2 separate regions of the Homo sapiens genome follow, and region 1 is linked to region 2. Evidence: promoter capture Hi-C in 16 types of primary human blood cells and fetal thymus (Javierre and others, 2016). All regions are on one chromosome and are shown on one strand. The core of a region is centred on a gene start or on the middle of the fragment in contact, and the rest is flanking DNA. Distances in the headings are between cores, read along the strand shown.

Evidence for each region. Contacts are between HindIII fragments. The CHiCAGO score rates a contact against its expected background, and 5 or more counts as called.
Region 1: a contact is called between a fragment that was not itself captured here and the fragment with the promoter of FARSB in region 2, in 1 of 17 cell types (total CD4 T cells). The highest score is 7.1, in total CD4 T cells.

The regions. Positions count from the first base shown.
Region 1 is chr2:216,499,844-216,503,849 of GRCh38, forward strand. It overlaps RPL37A (ribosomal protein L37a), which reads left to right. Exons shown (of 4, transcript NM_000998.5): 3 at 106-188; 4 at 1,498-4,006. The coding sequence ends at 1,561. Among named protein-coding and RNA genes, the nearest start is that of RPL37A, 3.0 kb to the left of the region's middle. The HindIII fragment of the contact is 3,211 bases long and covers 1,152-4,006 here.
Region 2 is chr2:222,653,883-222,659,003 of GRCh38, forward strand. It overlaps FARSB (phenylalanyl-tRNA synthetase subunit beta), which reads right to left and starts at 2,210. Exons shown (of 17, transcript NM_005687.5): 1 at 2,134-2,210. The coding sequence starts at 2,191. It overlaps LOC124907985 (a long non-coding RNA gene), which reads left to right and starts at 2,551. Exons shown (of 2, transcript XR_007088095.1): 1 at 2,551-2,629. RefSeq lists an enhancer at 2,271-2,320 and a silencer at 2,437-2,633. The HindIII fragment of the contact is 12,443 bases long and covers 1-5,121 here.

The sequences.
Region 1 (4,006 bases), core at 1,507-4,006, 6.2 Mb before region 2:
GCTTTCACATCCCTGACAATAAGGTGAATCCAAATTTAGACTTCTGGATGCTTGTAAGAGAAAATACTTACTTGGTTCATAGTGAAAATTGGTTCTCTTTTATAGACCAAGATGAAGAGACGAGCTGTGGGGATCTGGCACTGTGGTTCCTGCATGAAGACAGTGGCTGGCGGTGCCTGGACGTACAAGTGAGTCTAGTTCCTTGTGGTATTTGGAAGTGTGTGGACCACATAGGCCCAAATTCCAGGTTGCTGCTGGATGGGCTAGTTTTAACACTTTCTCAGGACTGAGAGAATAAGGATGCCTTTGTATTTTCAGGATTCTTCCGTGGTGGTTTATTTTCAGTTATTGAAAGAGTAAACACAAAACTACCAAAATAGAAGTCGGAAATCTAATTCACAGACTACTTTAGAATTTGATGGTCACTGGGCACATTGTTGTGAACATTGTCATGATACTGTGCAGGTCCATTAGTGGGGCTGAATCTACTGAACGTTGATTTGCACTGCAAGTTTTGATAAAAATAGGTGAAGGGGTCAGTTAGTTCAAAACTGTATTTGGAACTTGAGGCCATCAGGACCACCACAGTTTCGTCTTTCTGAACAGTATTAGACTGCTGCAGGTTTGTGAATCTGCAACTCAGTATCACCTGACAGGGCGATACTACAAACACTATACTACAAACTAGCATCTAGACCTGTGTTGTCCAATACACTAAGCACATATATGGCTAGTGTAATTAAAGAATTGGATTTTAAAGTTTCAGTCAATTTAAACTTAAACCGAAGCAGTGGAAAATGTTGAAATATATATATATTCCTTGTGGGGGTTTTTATTAGGGCAGAATGGAAAATGGGAACTAGAGTGCTTTCTTGGTTCTGATAGGAAAGTGAATTATTTATATACTTACAATACAGGATGGTGATTTTCAGGTATAGTTCCTGAATTTTATGGTAAAACTTTTGTAGTCATTTCAATAGCTGTCTTTCCCAAAGGCACTTTAGTGTCCGCTCTTATTTCCTTAATCATTGTTCTCACTGTATCATCTTGTAATTTATTCATTTCTTGTAATCTGTCCATTCCCTTTTAATAAGTTTAGGTCAGCCTCTTAGAACCATTTCTTTTTCATGGGATGGGGTAGGGGGAGTTAAAGCTTGCTTGTCCACAACTGAGTTACTTATAAAAAAAAAAGCAACTCTGGTTGAGAAATCAGATGCATGAGATTGTATGTCTAATTCTGCAAGATCCTGAAGGCATGGCTCTTAAAGGATGCCATCATGTAGTTTAGAAGCCACTAATTTCCGAGGAGTAATCTAATGTTGGTTAGATCTTTGGATTGACTGCAGCAAAGTATTGGTAGAGCAGTCTATCTCAGTATAATTCTTTCTAGGAAAATTTGGGAAGCGACTTTAACACAAAAACGAGGCAGATTTACTTATTTGCCATTTTCTATGTTAACATGCTTAATTATGTTGGAAACTGAATCTTTCTTTCCAGTACCACTTCCGCTGTCACGGTAAAGTCCGCCATCAGAAGACTGAAGGAGTTGAAAGACCAGTAGACGCTCCTCTACTCTTTGAGACATCACTGGCCTATAATAAATGGGTTAATTTATGTAACAAAATTGCCTTGGCTTGTTAACTTTATTAGACATTCTGATGTTTGCATTGTGTAAATACTGTTGTATTGGAAAAGCATGCCAAGATGGATTATTGTAATTCAGTGTCTTTTTTAGTAGTCAAATGGTAAAATGCAGCATAAGAATATAAGTCTTCCAAGTTAGATATGAGTGTTAGCTTTTTATAAGTCTGCTCCTGCCAGTTTGACTTTGAGATACATTGGAGCCAACTGTAAACTTTAGTTTTTAAATTACAGTTAGTTTTTTTGTTTGTTTTTGAGGCGGAGTCTCTGTTACCCAGGCTGGAGTGCAGTATACCAGTCTTGGCCCACTTCAACCTCCACTTCTTAGGTTCAAGCGATTCTCCTGCCTCAGCCTCCTGAGTAGCTGGGATTACAGGCACGCACCACCATACCTGGCTAATTTTTGTATTTTGAGTAGAGATGGAGTTTTCACCACATTGGCCAGGCTGTTCTTGAACTGACCTCAAGCGATCCACCTGCCTTGGCCTTCCAGAGTGCTGGGATTACAGGTGTGAGCCACCACGCCCAGCCTTGCATTTAATATTTTTATAATGTGTCTAGGCTGGGTGCGGTGACTCACGCCTGAAATCCCAGCACTTTGGGTGGCTGAGGCAGGTGGATTACTTGAGGCCAGGAGATTGAGACCAGTGTGGCCAACATAGCAAAAACCCGTCTCGACGAAAAATACAAAAAATAGCTTGGTATGGTGGCACATGCCTGTAATCCCAGCTACTTTGGAGGCTCAGGCACAAGAATCACTTGAACCTACGAGGCGGAGGTTGCAGTGGGCCAGGATCGTGCCACTGCACTTTATTTAGCCAGGACAACACTCTGTCTCCAAAAAAAAGTTTCTGAAGGTAAAAGATATACTAAAGGATATACATATACTGCCTCTTCTATGATGTTTCATTTGACCTACACCATCAGCATCTTCAGGAAACAGTATGAAACTAATTTCACATTAAATGTTGCAAACGTCTGCAATTCTCCAGTTTTTAGTTTGCACGTAAGGATTCGTAGGATTGATTTCAGATTGACAGATGGTTGTAGTAACAAAAAAATGAATTGCCTTGGAGAATTCGAGTTATTTTAGGCCTGCCTTTGACACTTTTATGCACTTAATTCACTGCCAATTTAGTCTAACTCCTCAACCATCTGTGGTATGGACTTCTCAGTCCTCCTAATTGGTATGTCTTTTATCTATCCCAGAGTCAGTAGTCCTTTAAGGATGCAAATTTAATTCGATAAGAATGTGGATTTACTTCATCTTTAGGACAGAGTAAAAACCTTTATTTCACTTGGTCTGACCCCTATCTTCTATAACTTGTTTTTTTGCTCATTACTGGCCTTTGCACGGATGTCTCCCTTCACCTGTACCTCCTGCATTGCCTCTGGCAGAAACATCGCTACCCCAGGAGAATACTTCACTGGGTCAGGCATTTGCTAGATCCATAGCAGTAACTCATCTGTGGATCTCATTTGTGTCACAAAATGGTACTCCTACTGATTTTGTAATGTGAAGCAAGTACTGTGGGTCAGTAGGGGTAGGACCAGGAGTGACAAGTCAGGATTTTCAGGCTTCATAGGAATGACACAGCTCTCCAGGTGAATCTCCTGGAGAATTCTCCATAGGATCTCCAGGTGAGTGACCAGGATTTCATGTAAGCATAGGGAATTGAATGAGCATTAGATGGTCTAATGCTGCGGTTAAGAACACCAACTTAGCCAAACTGCCTAGATAGTTGGGTGACTTGGGTTAAGTGACTTAACCTCTCTGCTTCAGTTTCCTGTATAATTCTTGGTAGTAGAATGGAGTATATGCTGGGTGTTTGGATTATTAATTTGGAGTCTTACAAAGCTGCTATGTTACATGATTAGGCATGGAAAACTTCGGTTTTTATAATCAGTGAAGTACTGCTTTTTGTTTGTTTTCTGAGAGAGTGTCTGTCACCCAGGCTGAAGTGCAGTGGCATGATCTCAGTTCACTGCAGCCTCTACCTCCCGGGTTCAAGCAGTTCTCGTGCCTCAGCCTCCGAAGTAGCTGGGATTACAGGCTTATGCCACAAAGCTCAGCTAGTTTTTGTATTTTTTATTTTTAGTAGAGATGGGCTTTCGCCATGTTGACCAGGCTGGTCTCAAACTCCCAGGCTCAACTGATAACGTCTGCCTTGGCCTCCCAAAGTGCTGGGATTCTGTAAGCCACCTCACCCAGCCATGTATTGCTTTTTTATGACAGTTAAAAGAGGAAAGGGCGGGGGACAGTTTACAGACCAGTGAAAGTGCTGAGATAAATATTTTTATACCTAAGGAAATAGTGATTTTCCCAAGATGATAGGGAGGCAGGTGATGTAGATAGGGCTGAAGA
Region 2 (5,121 bases), core at 960-3,459:
AAGTGCTGTGATTACAAGCATCAGCCATGTACCTGGACCTTAAAAGATTCAGTAGCTAACAAACACATATTTGTGAAAAAATCAATCTTAATTGATCACTGACAATATGAAAAAAAAAGGGAAGCAGACAGAATATGTTAAAACATCAGATGATAGTAAATAGGTTATAAATCTCACCATTTTTAAAAATCTGGATTATTTCTTACCTCCCTAGAAATGGAGACTGGGATGGGAACTGATTATAGATGTTTTGAACAAATATTTGCCACCTACCATCTTAGGCAATTCAGGTATACAGACTGAGCATTCCCAATCCAAAAATCTGAAATCTGACATGCTCCAAAACCCAAAACCTTAAAGTGCAGACATGATGTCACAAGTGGAAAATTCCACACCTGACTCCATGTGACTTGTCAAAAACACAGTCAAAACCTTGTTTCATGCAAAAAAAAATTATTTAAAGTATTCCATAAAATTAACTTCAGGCTATGCATATAAGGTATATGTGAAATATAAATCAATTTCATGTTTAGACTTGGTCCCACCCCCAAAATATCTCATTATGTATATGCAAATATCCCAAAATCCAAAATCCAAGACGCTTCTGGTCTCAAGCATTTTGGATAAGGAATTATTAACCTGTACCACATCCCATTAGTGAGAATATGGTTTAGAAGGGCAGGTAAGAAATATAAATAAGCTCATTATAAAATAAAGCGATTAGGCGATTAGAGCCAAGTACAAAGGGTAAGAGTAATACAATACCCTTGTATTTCCTTTACTTTCAGGGACTTATGGCAGAACTTACGAAGAATATCACATAGAGAATAGGTACTATCTAAAAGTACACACTTAGGAAAGATTCTTAAAAGCCAGCTTTATTTTCACTGTAACAGTAATCTTATTCTGGGAAGCGGTGGCTGTCATTAAACCAATTAGGCCTTTGTTAACACACTGAGCCCTAAAAACAAAAAAAACAGCTCTCACGAACCAGTTGGTCCAGCCTTTATACAAGCTAAAAATTATGGGGTGGGGGCCGGGCGCGGTGGCTCACGCCTGTAATCCCAGCATTTTGGGAGGCCGCGGCAGGTGGATCACGAGGTCAGGAGTTTAAGACCAGCCTGGCCAAGATGGTGAAACCTGGTCTCTCTAAAAATACAAAAAAATTACTCGGGCGCGATGGCGGACGCCTGTAATCCCAGCTACTCGGGAGGCTGAGGCAGAAAATTGCTTGAACAGGGAGACGGAGGTTGCTGTCAGCCGAGATCGCGCCACTGCACTCCAGCCTGGGAGTGCAGACTCCGTCTCAAAAAATAAAAATAAAAAAAAAAATAGGGTGGGGCAGCTGCTACGGCTGTGAGGTAACTGATAACTGCATTTAATATCTCCCTCCTTTTTTTCAATGGTTGTGTTTTTAGAACTGATTAAAAGATGAAATGTAGAATGAAGTCTACACCCATTTAATACTCCCCATTCAGGTCTCAGATCAAATGTTACCACCCTATCTAAAGTTGTTCTTGGCACAACACCTTTTCTTTCCTTGATGGCATTTAACATTATCCGAAATCATTTTATTAACGTGCTGGTTAATTGTCTGCCTCCATCAGACAGAACGTGGACCTGACGTGTCGTGTGCACAGCTCTAGTCCTAAGCTCTTAGAACAGTGCCTGACACATAACAGGCGCTCAGGAAACATTAATAAAACGAAGACAGGTGGAATGCCGTTCTCCACCCCGCTGCACAAATCTCTCCTCCTACCCCCTTATAAACTGAGTTCCCACAGCGCTGCTATTGCAATTAACTGGCTACGCTCGGGATGCAACCCCGGGTTTCCTTCCTGTTCTATCCCCTGGCTTGGATGTCGGTGCCAGGCACGCTGTAGGCACTCGATGGCAGATCGCTGAATGAATGACACGGCAAGCCGGGCACAAGCAGTGGCACCGCTGCGATGCCGGTTCCGAGGCTACCACAGCCCAGCCGGACCGCCACCATCATCGGCCTTCCCGCGTAAACCCCGGCCTCCCGGAGCCAAAACCTTCAGGAAGGCATGAATGTCGCCACATTGCCCTTTTGGAGGGAGGCCCTGCCTCCGAGAAGAGGCGTAGGGCCCAACGTATAGGGCCGCCACTCACTGTAGGTGCGGCCCAGGGCTTGGAAGAGCAGATCACGCTTCACGCTGACAGTCGGCATGGTGTGTCGAACTCACTGCGCCTGCGCAGCGAGCTGACCCGGGCTTCCCTAGCGAAGCGCGTAGGACCCGCCTCTTCTTGTGCGTGTTGTCTTGAATATCGCCATTCTGCTGGCAACAGTTCCTGTTCTCTTTTTAACCTAAAAACACTCATCATGCCATTACCTCGCTGATTAAATGTATCTTTATGAGACTAATAGCTTAAAAGCCTGTAAGAAAGATATAATTTGATAGAACTGGCTAGGATTTGTCAGGCATTGTAATGTACTGACCCTGAAGTCCCGGATGCTTCCAGGGCGCTAACGGCCGGGGACGCCCACCAGGTGGGCGGGGCGAGAGTGGGGCGCGTCAGGGAGGGGGTGGGGCCTCCACGTGGGAGATCTTGCCTGGAGGTGGTGGAAATGCGAGTGGAGAGGGTTCAAGGCTTCCTGCAGAGAAAGGTGTGCAAATCCTGGCGGCGGGAGAGGGGCTGTTAACAGACCTCAGTTTTTACTTCATTCTTTAATCTCTCCTCTACTCGTATAAGTGATATACCTGTGCTTTGTTTGAACTTTACGGCAGCCCTATAAGGGAGGCATTGTAAGAGACCTCTTTTTTTGTCTATTTGCTCAGTGCTCTCTGCTGTCAGTGGGCTGTGCTCAGCCCTCTGCCAGCATTAAATTTCCTCCTTAAAACAACCCTGAGTGTAATAGGCTGAATAACGGCCCCCAATAATATCAGACCCTAATCCCTGCAACCTCTAAATGTAACTTTATATGGAAACAGCGTCTTTGCAGGTTAAGTTAAGGATTTTGAGATGAAGATTATCCTGGATTCGAAAGACGAACACTAAATGGAATCACAGTATCCTCATCAAATCATAAAAGGGAGGTTGAGAGAGACGATTTAGCCACGGTGGCAGAGATTGGAGTATGGCAGCCACAACCCAAGGATGCCAGCAGCCACCAGAAACAAAGAGACAAGCACACACTGGGGGTGAGGGGGTGGAGGAGCGGGGAGCATCAAGAATAGCTAATAGATGCTGGGCTTAATACTTAGGTGATGGGATGATCTGGGCAGCAAACCACCATGGCATACATTTACCTATGTAACAAACCTTCACATCCTGCACATGTATCCCTGAAATAAACAGAGACAAGGACAGATTCACGCCCAGCCCATGGGGCAGCCCTATAATGCATGCTGATTTGGGCCCAGTGAAACTGATTTTGGGTTTCTGGCCTCCAGAACTGTGAGAGCATAAATTTATGGTTTAAGTCAGCAAGTTCGTGGTAATTTGTTTCAGCAGCCAAGGGAAACTAATACATCAAGATAGGTACCATTATCCCTGTTTTACAGGTAATGAAACTAAGGCACAAACTGGCAGTTCCAGGGGGAGCCTTGCCCTAATCCTTTCTACTGTACAGTGAGTGAGGGCTTCTTCCAAAGTCCTTCACATGAGGGGAGAAAAGCTGAGCCAGATGTAAGCCACCCTAACTATTAATCAAGCAGTTTTTCACTATACAGTATTAGCTCCCCTCCATGGGAAGGCAGTCCCTTCCCAGTGACCAACATAACAGATTGGCAACACCCCATAAATGGCAAACATCCCCAATGCAAAATACAGCTTTCCACCTAAAATTGGTGCTTTCTGCTCAATTAATAAGCAAAGGACTAGTGCCAGGCATGATGGCTCACACTTGTAATACCAACACTTTGGGAGGCTGAAGTGGGCAGATCACTTGAGGTCAAGAGTTGGAAACCAGCCTGGCCAACATGATAAAACCCCATCTCTACTAAAATTACAAAAATTAGCTGGGTGTGGTGGTGGGCACTTGTAATCCCAGCTACTGGGGAGGCTGAGGACTGAGAATCACTTTAACCCAGGAGGCAGAGGTTGCAGTGAGCCAAGATCACGCCACTGCACTCCAGCCTGGGTGACAGAGCAAGACTCTGTCTTAAAAGCAATAACAACAACAACAACAAAATAGTAATAATAAATAACCAAAGGACTTCCTGCTGACCTGCTCTGCTTTGGGCACTCCAAAGTGTTCTGTGGCCTCTGAACCTCAGTTTCCTCATCCATAAAATAGGGATAATAATATACACCTTAAAGAATTATTGTGTCCCATATCTGTAATTCCAGCACTTTGGGAGGCCGAGGTGGGAGGATTACTTGAGCCCAGGATTTCAAAACCAGCGTGGGCAACAGAGTTGGACCCCATCTCTAAACAAAAAGAAAAATTAGCCAGGCATGGCGGCAACACACCTATGATCCCATCTACGCGGATCACTTGAGCCCGGGAGGTTGAGGCTGTGGTGAGCTGTGATCGCGCCACAGCACTCCAGCCTGGGTGACAAAGTGAGACCTTGTCTTAAAAACTAAAAAAGAATTATTGTAAGAATTTGAAATAATACTCATAAATAACTAGTATAGTTCTTATCATGTCAGAGGTCCTGGAAATGGGGCAACTGTCATTTTTTTTAATCCTCCTAGTTAGTTTTCTGCTAGTCTCAGACCACCAAGGGGCATTTTGTTCCCATCTCTCACATCCCCCAACTGACCTATCCTACTTTTTATCATTGCACATGTTACAGGTACTCTGTCCCTTCTCTGTGAGAAGCTAAACTGTTAGAAGATTCTAATGGAAAAGAGGAAACTAGGCCACTAGGGCTCATCACAAATGGCATTAGCTAACTGAAAGGAAAGGTACATGGAAAATGATGAGATCGTATATCACAAAATGTAGGTACATGCTTCTTTCATCTAACTTTGGGGCCAGACTGAAAGCAGGAATGAGGTGGCAGCATTTCCTAGGAAGGAAAGACGAGCTGGACAAAAGGCATGGAAAAACTCTCAGCTCAGCAGAAATTAAGGAGATGCAAATAAAAATTATAAGGACATACATGTTTATACCTAGGAGACTGCTAGAAGTCTTAAAGTCTGAAAAAA